Linked DNA regions of Homo sapiens: region 1 is linked to region 2. The links are contacts of gene promoters, found by promoter capture Hi-C in human tissues and cell types (Jung and others, 2019). All regions are on one chromosome and are shown on one strand. The core of a region is centred on a gene start or on the middle of the fragment in contact, and the rest is flanking DNA. Distances in the headings are between cores, read along the strand shown.

Region 1 (5,376 bases), core at 1,104-3,603, 690 kb after region 2:
AAGTACAAGAATTCAATGTAGATTTTGCCGTCAGCCTGCAGGAGTTCTGGCTTGAAAGGCTCACGTGCTTTCCTCTTCACTGCAGACTTCCTCCTGGGTTCCTTGTCATTGTCATCTTTCCCCATTCGCAAAGGAGTCATCACATCTAATCCAAAGACATCAATAACCCTACACCTTAAACACATGAATCAGTGCCCAGTGCCCTGCATCTTGCCCCTATTTCAAACCCTAACACAGAAAGTTGGAGCAGGAGGCTTTCAAAATTTGGACGCAACACTGCCAACTATCTAATTATTTAACAACATGGGAAAGTAACCGAGCTTAGCCTTCCAGAAGGCAGATATATTGCATTAGGGACCTTTCTGCAAAACATATGAAAGTAATGGGTAAAAGGAAGGAAAGACTCGGGGCTGGCTAGTTATCCACCCTGACAAACAGTAGCATTTATGGCTGCTCTTTTCTATCACCTTGTACAAATGAAGCACATGTAAGCAAAATAAGTATGTATGCAGGAACTTCCTATTTCCCCTTTCTCAATTGAGGGGTATCCAACCATAAATATATTTCAAAAGAGGTTTAACATTTCTGATAGATTGATTTGAAGCAGCTCAGAGCTACATTTAAATATCAGAGGTCTCGCTGCAAGGGCTTCCTGCCACTGCCACAGCAATTCTTGGAGGATTTCCCAATCACTGTGTGTCAAAAGAGGTATTGGTTGCAAGTTTCCTTTGTTTGCGTTTTATGCCATATTTCTGACTTATTTTTAAGTCACATAATGTGATATCTAGAATTAACTATTATCTCCTACAATCAATTTTTTCTCCCACTGCTCTGATATCAAGGCACATTTTCTTTGTTTCTTGTCTTCACATTAAATTCTGTTGATTTTACCAAAATGTTTCAAATCACATATTTCATCAATGCTCATGGCTTTGTAACCTCTTAAAAAGTCCAATCAACCCCCTATGCTATGTTATCTGAGATGGACAGAAAAGCTGCTCAATACTTCTAGCCTACCACAGTGTATATCTAGGTATCCACACACATTCAAAAATACTCTCACACTCTCAATCCCTTTCCCTTCTACAATTTTCATAATGAATGCCACTAAACATTTGAGGGAAATAGCTGGGACATCAGGTATTAAACACACCAGTTTAGTTACTTATATTTTCCCAAGGTGGAGCATTTTGGGGTTAATCAGATGACTGAGTCATAAAATATGGCCCCAATTAGTTGGAATGTGGGGAAGAGCAAACCTTGGATGACGGGAACAGCAGGAGGGTCCTGGCCCATAGAGGAGAAGACATCTGGGATAGGTGCCTGTAGGATGACTCAGAGGGCATTGAGTGCTGGGAGAATAGGATGGAAAGGGGTGTTTGCTGATGGTACCTTCTAAGGGAACAGCTGCCCTTTTCACATGTTTTCTCAATGGCTGGTCTAATGATGATAATTAATGTAACTACTAAGTAACACTAGCTCTTGTTTATTAAGCCCTGGTATGTTTCAGGTGTTTTGCAGACATTAACATACTTTATCTTTAGAATTTGATAAATCATTGAGAATGATACTGGGTAATGTATAACATTAATTTTGCACTAAAGCGACCCACACATTACATGAAGTCTGTTCTTAATAAACAGGAGCTTTAGGTATCCATGGTGAGATTATGAAACAGTAAAAGTTCAAGCTAGACTTGGTTTCCCCTGGCAATCCGTCTGTCTTTTCTAGATCATCTGGCTCTGCCTCCTATCAGTTAATATGTGCAGGCTAATCTTAGTGGGAAACAAAACCAAACTTAATTATAAAAGTAATCTTCTGAGAAGCACCTTCCTTCCCACCACCAAAAGCATCCTAGACTCTCCATGTGAAAGTTATTCTGTATGAAATAGAAAACATACATTTCAAAAGGTAATTTAAAATAACTCAAAGAATCAGACTTCTTATTTAATTACAGCTATATTGAAGATACAATATGGGTGTGTGTGGATTCATTTATTCACAAACATATATATTTGCATCTACAATGTGTTGTACATAGTAAGAATACAACTGTGAACAAAATAGATAGAAATCTTTGCTTTCATGGGGTTTACCCCTGTGTCCTGAGGAGGGGAGACCAGTAAGTCAATAGGTAAAGTAGTTGTTTATGTGGCAGTAGGTATGGTGGAGAACAATAAAGCAGCAAAATGGACTCGTCAGTGGTGATTTGGGTTGTTAACTCATAGCTCATAGAACCACATGGGGATCACAGTCCAGGGTTTGAGGGATACCCTGGTGGTTCTGGGCTTCTGGTGGGGTCTGAGACAAGCAGGGAAAAAGGGCATCATGAGATCAGTCCTAAGATTTCCAAGCCAGGCAGTGAGGGTAAGACAGTGACTGCTGGGAAAGGAGGGGTTGGGATCTTTTCAGGACCACCCAGCATCCTTCTTCAACAATGACGTGGAGATGCAAGAGCCCAAGAAGGTTTAGACGGAGGGAATCTGGGACTCTGTGCCCGAGGAATCTGAACATTAGAGTCTCTTGTTCCAGATGTGTAAAACTTCTGAGGAAGATAGAGGGATAACCTTCTAGAGGCCTTCTAGGCTCATCTTGCCTGAACTCTTTTGAAGGCATTTACATTTAAGGATGAAGAACACACCACAGCTTTGTTTTTATTTTTGTCAGCCTGCACAAAGGTTACACAAAACCAGTTCAGGGTATGGTGGTGGGGTGGTAGGGCGCGGTTGGCTCTGGGATTCCAACTCCCTGAAAAGCTTAGGGTATTATATCCCAGTGCTGATGTGAAGTGAAGAAGTGAATGTAACTTCCTAGCATGTCTACATCAGAGAGTAGGTTTAGATGAAGTTAGACTGTGTACCTTAATTTGTGCCTTCAGTGTGAGCAGTTACCACTTGATCTCTGGGTACCTCTGAGAGATACATGGATGTCTGGGCTCTGTGAAGAAGAGCTTGGGGGTCACTGTGGACTGGAGACTCACCACTCCTGAGACTGAGGAGTTGTATTGCACCTTCAATGAGGCTCTCCCGTAGCCAGTGGTTTGAACCTCTCTGGAGAGATATCATTTCTAGGTATTCATGAATCTTGGCAACAGCGAATGCCTTCACTTCCCAGTCAGACCCCACCCCATTTAATTCTGAAACTATATCCAACTCCCAAGGTGATCCCAGTTTCCCAGTTTCTACCATGCACACTTCACAGAGGTAGTTTATTAGAGAGTCTGTCTACAATCCTAGAAATCAGGAATATTCTATAAAAACCGTAAATGAAGAGAGGTTCAAGAATGAGACAGGAACGAGGTTTAAGAATAGTTTTCAGGGATACACTCAGCAGTATGCCTAGCTACTGTTTTTGAGTCCGATTATCTCCAAGATTATATGAATGTTTATGAAAAAAAATTCCATATGTATGTGTTCAACACCCTTCCATCAGTCTCTCAAGCGTCCTGCAGAATGGGGTACTGAACATTAAAGTATTGCATACCACTTGAAGCAGTGCATGCAACTTCCTAATGTGTCTGTTTTCAAGGGAAAAAATGTATGTTTTGTGGGGGGACTGGACTCAACATTTCAAACATTTACTTAGGGAAAAAATAGTCCCCAAGTATTTTCCATATCTTAAGTGAGAAACACAGAAAACATTCAAAATTTTGCACGTTAGCCTTCCTTTCTGCATTTTCTTGAAGACCAGGTAGCCCTAATAATTCTAGAAGCGATATGATTAGCAGGAAATGAACATGGCATTAATTTTTATTGTGTCAACATTGTAAAATAATACTTCTAAAATCTAATTTGCTGATGAATTAAGAGGGAATCCTGTTGGTATAAGAGAATATAAACATAAATATTTTCTTTCATATTTTGGAGGAAGCTTTATGAAAGAAATAGGAAATTATTGTTTGTGGCTCATTAAAATAGCTATTTATAACTATTCTGTTTTGACATCTACTTTATAAGAATATGATAATTCTGACCTTCAGTTGTAGAGATGCAGACTTTGAAACTGCCTTTCATAGGACATGCTTGCATCATGAACTGCTTCAGGGGCTCTGCAGCCAACATATGTGTGCAGCTGCCAGAAAATGTTTCATGTTCAGTGTGTTTGTTTCATGTCTGTTATGCTTATCACTAATTGTCTACCTAAAAAGAAGTGAGAACATATTAAATTAAGGTGGACAATTTGCACCCAATTCTCAAATTTAAAAAGCTGGTTTTTCACGTAGTTTCATAAAAATGTAAATGGATATACTTAAGTGAATATTTTAGCAATTTCCCTAATAGATGCATAAAATGGTCAATGAGGCTTTCTAAATGCTTTGAAAAGAATCTCATAGTTAAAGGTGTTGAAAAGTCAAGTGGTAGAAATTATTAGTTGGTTAATTAGTTGATAGAGTACAAATTTTAATAAGAAGTCATAGTATAATTTCTCATAAGGAACATGCTATTGTTTTTTTTAGTAAAAGAAAAAATTATATCATCTTGGTTATAAATTTTATTTTCTTTTTTAATAGTAATTTTAAATCACAAGGATAATATATACTTGTTGCAGGACATTTAGAAAATACAGGTTTGTCAAAGGAAGAAAATAAAAATTATCTATTAGCATATAAAGTTATCATATCATATAGAGTTAAGCAGTACTAATATTCTGAAGTATTTCCTTCTAGTCTTTTTCCTATACATGTATTTTCTTTTTAGTAAAAATAGGGTCTCTCTATATATGACCTATAAATATGTATATATGTACATACATACATACACACATATATGTACATACATGTATAGTTTCTGGCTCATTAGTTTAATATTGTAAACATATTTGTGAGGGAAATGCTTTTTTTTTCTATAATATTACTTAAAATGCTTTCTTAGTAGTTCATATGGATATACTGTGGTTTCTTTAACCAGTCACTTTATTCTTAAATATTTAGGTTTCAGTTTTTCCAAATTGTTGCTATTATCAAACAACTTTATAACAACTATATCCATATACACCATTTAAAATTCTTCTCTCATTATTTTTGATCAATTTTTTAAAGTGTCATTGCTGCATTAAAGGTCCATACATTTTTACTACCCTTCAGAGAGCATATATCATTTACACTCTTACCAGTAGTGTGTGAGAATGCTTGTTACATTTTACCTTTCCTAAATTAGATGCTATCTTATTTATATTTGTTTATTTTTTTTAACCTAACTACTCAACATGATAGCAATCTTCTTTTAATATATGAAAAAACTTACAGATGAAATTATATGTTACCCATACATTTTTTCTTTTAGAAACTATTTGCTTTTATGTTTAGGAAGAGCTTCCCTATTCTCAGAACAAGTTAATATTTACAGTATTTTCAACATACCGTTATGATTTGATTTT
Region 2 (5,712 bases), core at 863-3,362:
TTTATCTCAAAATTGTGGTGTTCCATGAGACTTGGTCCCTGTACTCAAGGGGCTCAGAGTATGGACAGAGAGACAGACTGACTATACTAGAAGGTAATAAGGGAGTTGGCTATCTGTGCGAACAAAGCTTTATGGGAAAACAGATGAAGGGGTGATTAATTCAGCCGGGGGTGGGGGTGTGGTGGGTGGAAGTGCTGGAAAAGGCTTCAGAGGGGAAGTTACACTTGAGTCAGTCATTTGAGAATGAGCACAATTTCATTTTGGGCAGAGGGAACAGCATGACCAAAGCCTGAAAGTGAACAGTCCTCATCTAAAGTATTCTAGCAGATGGCAGGAGGGAGGGCTGAAGGTGGAGAGACAACTGATGAAGCTGGCAAGAGCCAGGCTGGGAAGTGCCGTGAGGCTCTATGAAGAAGCCTAAAAGAGCAGCCTTCCTTCTCCTGAATTCCTGGAGCAACTACTCTTTGTGAACTCATTTTGGCCATAATTTTTCATGCGTGTACTTACAAAAAAATCTCTACAAGTGATTTATAGACCTGCCTAGAGAAACAGGGAAAATCCCTGATGTTCATTTGTTTCTCAGCTCTTCCTGTGAAGTGTAATACATGGGACTGGAGAAAACATAGCACAGAGATTAACAGTACAGAAACGAGGTTCGAGTTCCTTCTCTGCTGTTCCCACTGTCCTCACTGCTAACTAGGTGAAATCCAGCAAGTTATGGCACTTCTAAATATCACTTTCTTTCACTGAAAATGGGAATAATGACAGTTTCTATATAATAGGACTCCTAGGATGATTCAATAAGTCCTTAGCAAACATTGCTACCCAATTAATAGAATTAATTGACTACTTACTATGAGGCAGGACCTGTGCTAGATTCCTTTTTTTGGAGGGGGGATGGAATCTCACTCTTTTGCCCAGGCTGGAGTGCAGTGGCGCCATCTCAGCTCACTGCAACCTCTGCCTCCCGGTTTCAAGCGATTCTCCCTCCTCAGCCTCCCAAATAGCTGGGATTACAGGTGCCCACCACCATGCCTGGCTAATTTTTGTGTTTTTAGTAGAGACGGGGTTTCACCATGTTTGCGAGGCTGGTCTTGAACTCCTGACCTCAAGTGATCAGCCCGTCTCGGCCTCCCAAATTGCTGGGATTACAGGCATGAGCCACCGCACCTGGCGAAGGGAGAACTCTTAATGCTTTAACGGATTTTGCAAGTAAAGTCTGGATTAGTCAGGGTAGGTGTGAGGATCAAAGGGGAGCTTCACCCTACTAGCCTTGGCTCCAGTAGTTTATTCAATTACATTCAGCAGCAAGTATTGAACACTAATGATATGTAAAGTACTGTGATATAAAATAGTCCATGTCCTCAAATAATTTATAATCTTGTAGGAAAAATAAGACATACACAAATAAAAATAATGCAAAAACTTTAAGTTCCTTGAGAGAGGGCAACAAAGAATGATTCAAAGGCAAGAGAATCTATCCTATGGGATATATCCAAAAAGGCTTCATTGAAGATGTCAACTTGGGGATAACTTTGAAAGGCAGGATCTTAGAGAGGGAGGAATGTATCATGGAAAGAGGAAATAGAAATGTCTTGGATCAGCCTGTGTCCCCTTTCACTATAAGAGCCTGAAACAATGTGGCTTGTCTGTAATAGACACGTGAATCTCCACTCACGAATTGAGGGACTCCAGTTTGTAATTTATGTCCCCTACAGCCTACCTTTCCTTTTCTGCCCTGTGCTTAACCTAGTACATTGTGATGAAAGGTGGGACCTGGCCAACATAGTTTCTTCCCCCAAAATCGAAACATTCAACTTTAGGTTAAAGGTGGACACTTTCCCTAGTATATCTAATGATGGGCTGAGGCTCAGAGCTTTGCAGCTAAGCTCTGGCCTTATTGACTTAAATCATTTTAATGACACTTTAATATTAAAGAGTCACTGGGCCCAGTGTCTGTGAAATGCTCTCTGTGCCCTGCCTCTGCTAGAGCAGACACTGTGTGCAGGAAAGAAGACAAGAGAATGTAGGACAAGTCCTACTGGCCTTGCAAAGGTCCCACCCCCTAGTCCCTGTGACGCATCCAGTGCAGGTGACATGTTCTCTAAGGTGTGGATAGGCAATTAATTTCATGGAGAGTAGGAGGTGTGGGTTCAGCTGCTGCTTTTTTTTTTTTTTCAGTGAGGCATTATCTGAATGATGCTCATTCTCTCTTGAGTCTGGACTTCGTGCAACAAGCAGCAACTGGATATTATTTTAAAATAAGCATAAGCCACCCAAAGATACTGATCTGGGTCCTTCTTTTGGAAGAAGAGTTGATTGAGAAGTGCCTCTTGGTTAAGGATTAACCACAGGGAAAAATCCAGCAGAAACAGAAGAACTGTGGGTTTCTTACCCCAGCCCTCAAGGAAGCTATGCCGTGAAAGGGGTACTGATACACTGACATACAGCAAGTTGGACGGGGCATCAGTTCTTCATTTGTGGAGTGGAGAAAAGAAGAGGAAATCTCTCATTTGGGGCATTTGAAGGATGGCTTCCCTGTTTCATCAGCTTCAGATCCTGGTCTGGAAAAATTGGCTAGGTGTAAAAAGGCAGCCGGTGAGTTAAAAAAAAGTGTGGGAGTATGGGTCATGGGGCAATACGCCAGGTAATCCTAAAATGTGATCTTAATGAGAAGTGAAAACAGAAGAGTTTAAAGGCATTTTCCAAAGCAGGAAGTAAGATATTTAGAATTCATCCCCCTATCTGTCTTATAGCTAATGGAGCGAGTCTTAACATGCCCCCAAAAGCAGCCTTTTCATTTCAGTAAATTAAAGAGTAAACCAGGACATGCCCTGGGCAAAAAAAAAAGAACATGACTCATTACTGGCTGAACTGGAACGTTGAATTCTGGTTTCAAGCCAAAAGGCTTTCAGAATTTTTCTTAATGTAGTTAAAAATGGGATAGAGGAAAGAAAAGTATTATTTGAAATGTACAATAAATGGGAAGAAATATACTGGAAAACTGAAAGCCATAGAAAGTTTGGTTGAAAGGTAAAATACAGAACAGAAATAGTTTGAAGGCTATTAGTATAGAAAAGCTACTGAGAAATTTTAGTATCTAAAAATCATTTACTGGGAATACCAAACAAGAGTATGTATATGTGCTATGTTTTAAGAATATTATTGAATCACTTAGCTTTACTACTACAATCTATCTTCTCTTGCTCATTGCAACGTCTTTTTTGTACTCTTACATTAATGTTTGCGTTCTAATTACAAAGTTAGCTATTAGATCCTCATCAGATGGCTCCCAGGATGATTGAGAAAGGAATTGGTTTCTGGGAGTTGTTATATATTCAGAAGAATGTTTGAAAATCGGGGAAATCCAAAAAGGTATTCAATATACTTTATTTTAAAGTGGTAATTCCCAGCCTTGAATGAGTAATGTAAATATTATGCAAATAATATGCATCACACAGAAACCAGCACTTTATCTATGCACCTTATCTCGCTCCAGGCTTGCTTGGATTGCCTGACACTTTACTTGAGTGTTTTGATGTGTGTAGTAAGAGGAGGAAGTAGATGTTCATTTACCCTTGTGAATTTTGTGGGTAGGGTTTTAAAATTCTAAGGCATGTGATTGCATGGGTGTGGGGTTTGAATATAAAATTATAAACTCATTCATGTTTTTATTTGTTTTTTAACTGGAAAAAAAAAAGCACAGAAGAAAACCTCCCCATAATTATCATGTGGTTGATTCTGTGTGGCATAAGCAGGGAAAGGATCCTGGGTGTGTGGATGTGGTCATGTGGTCAGAGCATGCGAGTTGGGGCCCCTGCCACTGCTCCTCATGTAACTTAAGTAGCTTAAGACAGTTTCTCTAAGCACTGTTTTTCCCACCATGATGTGGCATGATGAGTTAGACGTGACATGATTAGTTAGATGTGGCATGAAGCCTGCCACATCTAACTCATTGGGGGAAGTACCAAATGTGCTAATGTATTTCAAAGTGCTTTATAATACTGACACACTTAGCAAATAGATTAGTGAGGGATTTGAGGCAATGTGTGTCATATTTTATGCAGATTAATAATGAAAGGAAATTCAGGAGAAGATACTGTGGGTAAAAGGAAGAAATCCACGTACAGTCAAGTTTGTAAGTGATAAAAATTCAATAGCTAAAAACAAAAACACAGAGGAACTAAAATCTGTACGTGTTATTGTCAATAATCTGAATGCTGAGGTCTGTTTCTTTTACAACTCTATTTTGTGTAAAAAAAGTTATAGGAAAAAAAAACACCCAAATCTCAGGTGAAGATGTTTGTTTTTCATTGAGAAATTTTATCTTTAGAAATTTTAATGACAAATTTTTTTCCTCATTTTGAAAGTAGTAGGTATATCAATTTTCTCCTTTGGGGTTTCTCTTCATTTTAGTCAGTGTTTGTGGACATGGTGAAATATTTAGGGGAGATGTAAGTCAGATATTAAAAGTTTTTCAAGCATGACACCTTGCATTATTCCCATCTAGTCAAAACCCCTAAATAAACTCTGGTAACTATACTTTTCCTAGGGAGGGAGAATACATGAGCCATTAGTTCATTTTGGGACAGGGAATGATTCAGATCTTAAGTGCACCTTAAACAAATGGAAACCAGAACAGATAAGTCTTCACGGCAGAGTGAGGTCAGAGAAAGTCCAAAATTTGGGACAATACAGAGGCCAACCTGAATCCATTATAACCAACCAGAGGGACAAGAGAGACCTGTAGAAGATGGTGATGCAAAAGGAAAAGGAAGGACAATTCTGAGTGGAGGGGGAAAGGGCAAAGAAAGAGAAATTTCCTTCACAGTTTCGCCTAGGGTCAGCTCTGTCTCTCCATGTTGGGAAAAAGACTTGAAGACACGTGTGGGAAGGATATATGTGCGATGGCATTACACTTAAAAAGGAAGAGAGGAATAAGAGGTTGGAAAGTTGGAATTAAAGATCTAAAGGGGGATAAAATGAAAAAAATTGTCTAAAGAGAAATTATAGGCAAATTAGAAGACAGACAAAATGTGAAATGAAGGTACATATGAATTTGAGGAGAAGAGTGTTTTTGTAGGAACTAGACTTGGTTATCCATCAAATAATAATTTAAAATGCAAGCATTTATATTTCTACATTCATAATCATTCTAAAAATTGTACTTTCAAAGTATACTTTTACTCACAGCAAAACAGAAATTAAGCTATGGACACAGGAAATTTATAGTCCTTACTTAATGGTAAAGAAAAATGGAAGCATCACCACCATGACAACTTTGCCTAATATTTTTTAGAAATTCCATCACAAAGCAAGGTGGTGGGAAGACTAATTCAAAAGAGAAGAAGTTAAGAATCTATTAATGGAGAAACAAATGGCACATGAAAAAAGCAAAGGAAAACAAAGATATAGTAAAAATATTAAGGTAGATTGGAGATAAATGAGGAAATGTGTTGATTATAAAAGTATATGCTGGGGCTGGGCGCAGTGGCTCATGCCTGTAATCCCGGCACTTTGGGAGGCCGAATCAGGTGGATCACTTAAGGTTAGGAGTTCAAGAACAGCCTGGCCAATATGGCAAAACTCTACTAAAAATATACAAAAATTAGCTGGGTGGGATGGCAGGTGCCTGTAATCCCAGCTACTTGGGAGGCTGAGGCAGGAAAATCGCTTGAACCTGGGAGGTGGAGGTTGCCGTGAGCTGAGATT

The links. Contacts are between HindIII fragments. The study calls those that stand out against the background at their distance.
Region 1: a contact is called between a fragment that was not itself captured here and the fragment with the promoter of ABCA12 in region 2, in 2 of the 25 tissues and cell types used here (small bowel and spleen).

The regions. Positions count from the first base shown.
Region 1 is chr2:214,444,892-214,450,267 of GRCh38, reverse strand. All of the region lies in intron 3 of VWC2L (von Willebrand factor C domain containing 2 like), which reads right to left. Among named protein-coding and RNA genes, the nearest start is that of VWC2L, 37 kb to the right of the region's middle. The HindIII fragment of the contact is 6,694 bases long and covers 1-5,376 here.
Region 2 is chr2:215,135,026-215,140,737 of GRCh38, reverse strand. ABCA12 (ATP binding cassette subfamily A member 12) reads left to right here and starts at 2,112. Exons shown (of 53, transcript NM_173076.3): 1 at 2,112-2,598. The coding sequence starts at 2,530. The HindIII fragment of the contact is 12,690 bases long and covers 1-5,712 here.